Linked DNA regions of Homo sapiens: regions 1 and 2 are each linked to region 3. Evidence: promoter capture Hi-C in human tissues and cell types (Jung and others, 2019). All regions are on one chromosome and are shown on one strand. The core of a region is centred on a gene start or on the middle of the fragment in contact, and the rest is flanking DNA. Distances in the headings are between cores, read along the strand shown.

Region 1 (3,296 bases), core at 624-3,123, 160 kb before region 3:
AATTTAGAAACATACTCATGACTATTTTATGTACCATTCTTTTTAATGTACACTTTTGTGTTGTATACAATATACTAATACAAGAAGGCATGTGTATGCTTTCTGACTAAACATTAAAAAATGGGGGAAAAGTGCTCACATAGTTTTTACTAATATGAATGAATGATCAAAAAACTTTGGAGACAGCTGTCCTAGGAGACAGTGTCTTCCAAAGGTGGTGTTAACTTGACCTCGCCATCAGTCTCAGTTGTCTGCCCTGTACTAGATGGAGATGAACATGTATTGAAGAAGCAAATCAAACTTTCATGACTCCAGAGAGTCTGGAAAGACCACAACGAGTAGTCCTTTGCTAAAGATAGAATAAGTGTAGTATGGAATCCAAGTTATTCTGACTATGTCAACTACTTGGTGTGACTGAATAATCAAATACCTGAGAGATGTCAAATAAATCATTCCTTTTCAGTACTCATATTTGGACTTCACCATGGAAGAAAATACTGCTGTTCTCAGTGCCCAGGGACTACAAAACCACATTCCCACAGAATAACCAAATTCCTTTTCTGCTTATGTTTAACAGCAGTGCAACTGGGCTTTTCTAATAGATTTTAAACTTTTTGTTATAAATATTGTTACCTCCACGGAAGTGAGGAAATTATATTTTTTAACTATTCTGCTTAGAAAATACCACAAATAAAGGAAAATCAATAAATTTCTTTCTTAAGTGGATACATTTTAAAGCAGAGTTACCAGTATTTGAAAATAACTCAAAATGAACTTCTTTCTCTCTAAGAAGTTCTCATAATGGGTTGATATGACCCATGTGTTAGTACATAGATACCTAGGAGTAAATGCCCCCACCTCCTTTGGGTAATGTATTTTTGGGGGGAATCTGATAGATACACTCTCCTGAAAATACAAATACAAAATTTTTACACGTAAAATTTAGCCTACAGTTTCAAGGCTTCATAGATACTGTTTTCCCTAAACGCATTCAAGAACCTTTAGGTAACTGAGATCTTCTGGATGTGAAAGGGATGTAGCTACATATACATTCCAACCCATAAGCCACTGTGTCATCATTGCAGTTTATGATAAGCTTTCTGTAAACCCTTCATTTTCTAGGTTTGGCTTCAAAAGTCATTGGTGCAATTCTTAATTACATAGTTACGTCTTGTTTTTTAACGCTTGAAATAGTGTTAAAATGATGGCATCTGCATTATCTCTTTGCTGTGTGATATTTGCTTATTATGTTTTAATTATTTAAATTTTTATGAGGCCACCATGTAAGTTATAATCTGAATCTTCCCAAAGATATATTGTCTTACATTCTGCCACAGAATTAAAATGACAAAAATAGTGCATCTCATAGCAAAGACATAGAGTTCCACTTTACAGATGAGAAAGCTAAGGCTTAAGAGCACTTAGAGTGATTTGATTCATTTATGAGGTAAGGGACTGTCCACGTTCACCTATGAGGCTTTTTTAAACTAACTTGTACAAGCCATATCTCTCAAAGTCTAGTCTAGGAACTTTCTCTGTCAGAGTCAGCTGGCAAGCTTATTAAACATGCAGGGTCTGACCTCTCCCTCCAGACCAAATGGGATGTAAATGGGGAACAAGATTCTTCTAGATGAGCAGATAAGCCAGATGATTCCTGTGCACATTGAGGTTTGAGAAACCCTGAAAATTGGTTTAACTTTAACTGCACATTAGAATCGAAGAAAATAATTTGCCTGGACCTAGACTGATTGATTGTCACTGGAGCAAGGAGGTGGAGGTAACCTAGGTTCTTAAAGTTCACCAAGTGATTGTGATGCACAGTGAAGGTTAAAAACCACTACTCTAAAGTATTTAGAAAGTTTTCCTGTAAAAGGCCAGATGGTAAATATTTTAGACTTTATAGGCTACATCTGTTATTCCTTGTAGCTACTCAACTTTGCTGACTTAGAATGGAAATAGCCATAGATAATATGCAAATGGCTGAACAGGGCCATGTTCTAACACTTCATTTATAAAAACAGCTGGTGGGACAGATTGTAGTTTGCCAAACCCTACAGAGGGGGGTACAGTCCCTGCCATGTGCCTCAAAGGTGCTGTTAGACTGTGTTCTAAACCTGAGATGTTTCTAGTTGTTTGAAGTAAAGGTGGAAAACTACCATATTAAAATTCAATTACGGGCTGGGCATGATGGCTATAATCCCAGCACTTTGGGAGGAGATCATAGTGACGCCACTTGAGGCCAGGAGTTCAAGACCAGCCTGGCCAACATGGTGAAACTGTGTCTCTACTAAAAGTACAAAAATTAGCCAGGTGTGGTGGTGCCTGCCTGTAATCACAACTACTTGGGAGGTTGAGGCATGAGAATCGCTTGAACCTAGGAGGTGGAGGTTGCAGTGAGCTGAGATCATGCCACTGCACTCCAGCCTGGGCGACAGAGTGAAACCTTGTCTCAAAAAAAAAAAAAAAAAAAAAAAAAGGAGTTCCATTCCAAGAGGGCCAAATAGGAACAGCTCTGGTCTGCAGCTCCCAGCATGATCGACACAGAAGTTGGGTGATTTCTGCGTTTCCAACTGGGGTGACTAGTTCATCTCATTGGGACTGGTTGGACAGTGGGTGCAGCCCACGGAGAGTGAACTGAAATAGGGTGGGGCATTGCCTCACCCAGGAACTGGAAGGGGTTGTGGGATTTCCCTCTCCTAGCCAAGGGAAGCCATGACAGACAGTACCTGGAATATCGCTACACTCCTGCCCAAATACTGCGCTTTTCCCATGGTCTTAACAACTGGCAGACAAGGAGATTCTCTCCCGTGCCTGGCTTGGCAGATCCAACACCCACGGAGCCTTGCTTGCTGCTAGTGCAGCAGTTTGAGATCGACCTGCGAGGCTGCAGCCTGGCAGGGGGAGGGGCATCCGCCATTGCTGAAGCTTAAGTAGGTAAACAAAGTGGCCAGGAAGCTCAAACTGGGTGGAGCCCACTGCAGCTCAGGAAGGCCTACTGCCTCCATGAACTGTACCTCTGTAGACAGGGCATAGCTGAACAAAAGGCAGCAGTAACTTCTGCAGACTTAAACGTCCCTGTGTGACAGCTCTGAAGACAGCAGTGGTTCTCCCAGCACGGCATTTGAGCTCTGAGAACGGACAGACTGCCTCCTCAAGTGGGTCCCTGACCCCCATGTAGCCTAACTGGGAGACATCTCCCAGTAGGGGCTGACAGACACCTCATACAGGCGGGTTTCCCTCTGCGATGAAGTTTCCAGAGGAAGGATCAGGCAGTAATATTTGCTGCTCGGCAGCCT
Region 2 (3,239 bases), core at 383-2,882, 250 kb before region 3:
TACCTAATACAGGATTGCATAACTACTTGCTTTTCCCTTAAAAATAATCTGCAGTATACATGGATCTTAAAATAGGAATGATAACTCTTTTGTAGAAATATTAGGGGATCAGAAGAGATAATTTATACGAATCATTTGGCTTACAATTTGTTGTAAAGTGAGGCCTTGAGACGCAATAGCTATTACAGGGTGAGCATTCTAAGTTGGAAAATTCAAGACCTGAAATGCTCCAAAATTTGAAACTTTTGAGTTCTAACATAATGCTTGAAGGAAATGCTCATTGGAGCATTTAGGATTTTGGATTTTAAGGTTTGGGATGCTCAACCCTAAACCAGTAAGTATGTATAATGCAAATATTACAAAATCCAAAAAAAATCTGAAATCTGAAACACTCTGGTCCCAAGCAATTCAGATAAGGGGTATTCACCCTGTATTATTAGTTTTTCCAGAAAAAAAAAAGAAAGATTATCAAAGATACACACCCGACTTTAGCACTAAAATTTTTAAGTTGTTGTACCTTCAATTGCTTTATTTTTCCCTTTCAATTCTAATGTTAAAAAATGTAATCCTGTTTTACAAAATATTTCAGCAAGTTTTCAGCAGTCGTCGCTATTACATTAACTATAAATAATCTTTTGGGAGACCTATCAACATCTACTTTCTCTTTCACAATTTGATAATTAACGTATATCACATCTGTGCCTTTCTTTCTAGGGATTTCCAAGATCTGATGGAATTTGCAATGGTTGATGTATATATGGCTCTTATCCATTGTCAGTAACCCACCTTCTTATGAGCTTTTCCAATTTTCGGGCAAATAACTAAGTACAGTATTTGTGCTGATATAGGTACAAGAGTTTAAAGAAGGCATGACTTAAGTGTTACTAAGAGGAAATAAGGAGAAATTATGTTAATAAATTGGCATTATATACTAATAAAGTTAGTCTCCAATCTGTGGAAACATGAAGAATAGAATGTAATGCTTTGCATTTCTCGGTGGATGAATGATTTTAAAATTTCATACATGGGGGAGAAAATAAAAATACTCCTGAACCCAAAGCTTGACTTCATTCAGGGATATGCATAAACTTCTCTCTCTTTTTTTTTTTTTTTTCCTTTAACCTGAAAGGACATTTAGAAAGCTAAATCTATTTTTCCTTCTTTTCAGTCAGAAAGTCAGGCCTCACCAGCAACAGACTACTGGTGTTTTGTAAGGGCTATATAATGTTTTCATCGTAATGCTATATAATGTTTTCATCTTTGTATTCGTTAGCCCAGACTTTTTGTTTAGTACTAGGAAGTATTTCCACAGATGTTGAGTGAGTGGATAAATGAATTAACTTGTGTGGTATACCTGGGGAAAAGGCAGTAAATGGGTAGAAAAACTCAAGAATAATCTACACCTATGGGGTTGACAACTTTTCCAGTTGCTCTAGGAATTACTGTAATCATTTTCTTTCTGTTATACTGCCTTATAGATCTGATGGAAATTTTGAAAAGAGCGTGTTCTCATTGTTTAGCTCTATATATCTGTTGGCTTCATTTGCTTTTAATATTTTTTTCTAATAGATACCTTTCTGGCTTGCACAGCAAAGTTCAATTAATGTAAGGATAAAATGTAAATTATCTAATTCAGCTTATTTACATGCTGTAAGTAATATAGTAATGCTAACTGGGCTTTCCTTGGCTTTTGTTTCATTGTGATCTGAGCTCAGATTATAGTTTGATCTGCTATGCACTGACCTGGGTGCCAGATGCAAGGGAAGCCAGTAAATAATACTATAAAGAGAGATGCTAGCTTTAGTTTTGAAAGGACGATGACTTGTAAGTGAGACTGTTGTAAACCACACAGTAATTAAAAAGCTCCATAATTAAAAGGGATATTTCCTTTCTTTAACCTGTCTTAAATGTTAGATATGATTAAAAGCAAAAGCATTTCTCTCAATAAAGTTGGGGGAAAAGTACTTGTTTTTATAGTCAGTTTTTGAAACATAGGAAAAGTGACCTCAAAGAACCTGTGTTGTAAAATTTTCAGAGTCATAGGAACTTGAACTTTGTTTCTTGATTACTTGATGAAATTGGTCATACTAGTTTATGAATAGTTCTGAATGGCCTTGTAGTCTTCTGTTGGTTTTGGTTTCATCTTTCAGTAGATGGACCTGTGGAAAAGTGGAACTGGCTTTGAAAATGTACTGGAAGCAATTATTTTCCTAAGACAATAATTTTTTTTCTCTTTTCCATTTTCTTTAGAACATACAGGCTAGAAGATCCACTCAGCATTTAATGCATATGACTTTACATTGCTGTTTATCTTTTTGTTTATCCCGAAATTGGAAGCTTCTAAAAGGCAGAGATTCACTCTCTTCCTGTGGTGGTTCTAGAGGCTGTGCCTTGCATAGAGTTAATTTTTAAAAAATAATTAATAATTATTTTTCTTACCATTTCTATTACTCATTTTTCAATTTGGAGAATAATTTTACCTGGCCACACTGATGGAACTTGCATACATGGGCCAGCTCTTTTACTCAGTTGCCCAATTTTTGAATGAAACTGAAAACTGTGGACAGATACATCAGGGAAGAGGAACATACAGAGTAAAAGACATAAAAGCCTTAAAGTTGGCTTCAGTTTCTTCATTTCATCTTGTAAATTACACAGGAGTCCTTCAGATAAAACTCACTGGTTATATGACAAATTAAGCAATTAGATTACTGCACACCTAATAATAGTAGCAAATAATGCACTTTCAATCTGCTAATATGTTAAGCACTTTTCATTATCTCTTCCTTTTACATGAGGGGAATCTGAAGTTTAGGGAATTTAAAACTTCCACAAAGTTAGTAGTCAGTAGTTTATATACTAGTATTAAATCTGTTTAAATCCAAAGCCGGTGACATTAACAGTTTCCAAACGATAATAACAAAAGTGAAAAATGTTAGTATCATTCCTTGAGAATTCACTACATAAAATTCTCTTCCAAATATTTACTCATTTTATAGATTAGGAAACTGATCCCCAATGAGGTATATCCTTTTGGTATATTGGTTAAAGAATAATATGTCTACTTGAGAGTGGCATCCTAATTACTGAAAACTGGACTACGAACTTTTAAAGTTTAATTAACAGTAATTTAATGTATTTTTATGTTATTTCTTAATCTTTGGATTATTTTTTCTTTTTGGAGGTTGTGTATACTCTGAATACTTATAGCAGTACTTCAGAACAATTTAGAACATATT
Region 3 (3,144 bases), core at 347-2,846:
TGAAGGTAGAATGTTCAGTGCTCCCTCTCCAGGTTTTATCATATTGGTGAACTGACCTCTCAGCTCACAACTGTGGTAATAGTTTTGAAGAACCAAATAAGATACTCTGATAGGATAGTCTATTTTTGATTTGTCTATTCCAAATACATTCACAAGAAACCTATCCATCACTAGTAAAATTTCATTACATCCCCAAATCTAATGAGATCTATGAAAAAAATACAATGAAATCAATTTTATTCTTTTAAATAGCCTATTTTAATACAATTCATAATATTAAGAGTGAATATGTAGCTTTTTGGCTTGATTCTTATTCTATGCTATTTTCTAATGATGCTTTTTTATTGTTATTCATGTTCTTAACAATGCTCTGTGTTCTTCAGAGGCAATTCCAAACACAACTTTAATTTTTGAAAGTGCTCAGACATTTGAAAGTCCTGTGTGTGTGCGTGTGTGTTATGTATGTATATATTTATAGTTTCAACAGAACCACTTGCTATTGTAAATGAGACTAAAAATGTACTTTGAACTAAAAATTTCCATACTTATATGTTTATATGATTTAGATTCTAGAGTTTTGTTATTGTTTGCTTTGTTTTGCCAGACTTTAAGCTACTCCTGATATATAGTACCTGGAAAAATATTTCCTTTCCACTAAGTTTTTGGTCTTTAGGTGGCTTTTAAAAGTTTCTACGGAACCTTCAATTCCACAAAAAGTTATCCTCACTGCAGCATGAAAAGGCACAACTTTGATAATAAATGCCTAAAATCCCATAGTTTGTAAGAAAGTAGAAATCAAGTTTCCTACTTAAAGTGTTTTTTTTCCAGTCATATCAGCTATTACTAAGAATTATAAAACTTCTTGATAAATTTTTTCTATTCTAATTAATTGACTTTTAGCTAATTAAAAAATATACGGGTTTGTATTTTTTGCAAAATTATACAACTATATTACAAAATTGAAAGAATTTGGTTTTTTCTCCATGTGCTTGATTTTTGGGAAATCATATAACAAGCCAAGGTAAAGCAATTATTTAAAAAACCCACAGCAGAAAATTTCACCTTTATTACATATGCTTATATTACATTTGCAGTAAGGAGTGCCACCTTTTGAACTTTAGGTTTCACATATTCTGAACTTTGTTGTAAATAGGAACTGTAATGTTATATAATCATCTTTTTGTGTCAATATACGTTTTCCCTCTAGTTGGTCAGAAGTGATGGCTTGGCATACAACTTTTTTCATTTTCTTTTATTCTTCACAATTCTTTTCTAATTCAACTTAAGAGTAGAGTCCACCAATCCTTTTAATTGAGATCGACAACTGAAGATTGCTAACTAAATCCGAATGTATTCCTCTATGACAAACTGCATTTGCAGAATTTTTAGAGGCACTCCCGAAGTTTTAAGAGGATGTTTATTACACGAGTCTGTAGGGCAACATTTCCAAGTTGGTACACATAAACGAAAGAGGAAACGATAGTTAAGGAAATCCTGTTCCAGGTTTTCGGGCAGCCCGAGTGATTGACACATGATATCACCGGAGGCGTGTCCTGGAGTGGAGGTGGAGGTGGAGGCAAGGAGCTGAAATTCTGCGTAGCCGGAGTGAGACCGCTCTGCAAACCACTGCGTGCTTTGCAGAGTGATTATCAGCACAGTTCCCTGCCCTGGATAAGGAACAGCTACAGTCGCTGTTAAATGTGCCTGAAAAGCAATTTGCAATCTTTGCATTAGGTAAGTACCGTTTCCTTCCGTAGACATTTTAGGAAAGATAAGGTGAGAAATGTTGACTTTTGCAAGGAACTGAACATTTATTTATTTGAACTTGCTTTCCAGCTAAGGTTACTGGTTGCATTTCAAAACACCGGTAGCATTCCCACTGCTAAAACTAATGCTCTTAAAGTAAATGCTACCGCTAAAAGAAAAAGCAGGGTCCCTTTCACCTTTCCTTAACCGAACAGTAGACGTTTAAAGTCTGAAACGATCGAATTTGTGAAACACAGAGCCGTTAATGCCTTTATGCGAAGAGGGGCTAGCACTCGGTGTGTGGACCAAATGCGTGTTTGTTTAGGCATTGTTGGCGACCGAATCCCGAGTGAAGCATTGGTTTAAAACCTGAATTTCCCGTCTCTGTGTATTGATTCCTAACGCGCAGAGGCGTTGCTTGAACGTTGTTTGAACTCCTAGGCATTCCAGGGGGCAAAAGCACCTCGGCAAAAACGTGCAGGACTGCATGTTACTTTGGTTCGCGGCTGACACGCCGACTGTGCGCCGGCCTGTCAATCACCGGGAGCAGCAACAGGGAGCACATGGCAACGGGCTGCGGGCGAGCTGGCCAGCGGCCCGCCCGGGGTCCCAGCCCTTCGAAGAAAGGGACATTCACGAGCTTCTATCTCTAATTCTCTGTCGCAGGCATTTCGGCCGTGGAACCCCAGGCTCGGAGGACTGGGTGTGAGCGCTGCCCGGGAGAGGCTGACCTGCCGGGACCGGAGTGCCCGGGGACGCTGTGCCCCCACTTGCCCAACGTGCGGAATCGGCTAAGCGCGTCGGCCTGCGCGGGGCACAAGGGACGACGCCCGCCTTTCTCTCTCCGAGAAGGATCCCCAAACCTCACTCTCTTCACTCCTCCCCGCTAAAAAAAAAAAAAAAAAGAAAAGGGTAAAAAAATCCCCCTCCCCCTCCCGGCCGCGGCAGCCTCTGCCTGGCAGGCGCGTGCTCCGAGGTTTCGCCGGGGTACTGCGCGGCTCCGTGACCCACCCGCCGACGGCGGTTCGGGCCCCGACCCGGGCGCTGCGGAGTCTCGAACGCCCGTGACGTGGATTTTTCGCTCGTCAGGAAGCCGCCATCCCTTCCTTCGTTCCTTGCGAGGAGCGACTAGAACCCGAGTTCTCTGAGCACACCGTGCCGTCAGCTGGCCCGTCACGCACTCGACTCCGCCACTCCCCTACTTGTTTTTCTGAGACTTGGGAAGCCTTCCTGAAAGGATTTGTAAAAACTGGTTCTTGGAAAGGGGCTGCAGAAGACCTCCCGAGGTGGATGTTACTGAGCCGCCCGGCGAGCACCAGCCGTGACAGGTCCGGGCCCGGCCGCGCGGAGCCGCGGGAGAACTGCCCTCCGCAGCCGGAAGGGGGCCGCGGGGAGCGC

What was found. The method cuts DNA at HindIII sites, captures the fragments that hold promoters and counts their contacts. A contact is called where the count stands out against the background at its distance.
Region 1: a contact is called between a fragment that was not itself captured here and the fragment with the promoter of SPRY1 in region 3, in 2 of the 25 tissues and cell types used here (dorsolateral prefrontal cortex and spleen).
Region 2: a contact is called between a fragment that was not itself captured here and the fragment with the promoter of SPRY1 in region 3, in 1 of the 25 tissues and cell types used here (dorsolateral prefrontal cortex).

Annotation. Positions count from the first base shown.
Region 1 is chr4:123,235,222-123,238,517 of GRCh38, forward strand. All of the region lies in intron 14 of AFG2A (AAA ATPase AFG2A), which reads left to right. Among named protein-coding and RNA genes, the nearest start is that of SPRY1, 160 kb to the right of the region's middle. The HindIII fragment of the contact is 3,538 bases long and covers 105-3,296 here.
Region 2 is chr4:123,142,734-123,145,972 of GRCh38, forward strand. All of the region lies in intron 14 of AFG2A (AAA ATPase AFG2A), which reads left to right. Among named protein-coding and RNA genes, the nearest start is that of AFG2A, 220 kb to the left of the region's middle. The HindIII fragment of the contact is 5,799 bases long and covers 1-3,239 here.
Region 3 is chr4:123,395,199-123,398,342 of GRCh38, forward strand. It overlaps SPRY1 (sprouty RTK signaling antagonist 1), which reads left to right and starts at 1,597. Exons shown (of 3, transcript NM_001258038.2): 1 at 1,597-1,734; 2 at 2,413-2,658. RefSeq lists a silencer at 3,032-3,144. The HindIII fragment of the contact is 12,155 bases long and covers 1-3,144 here.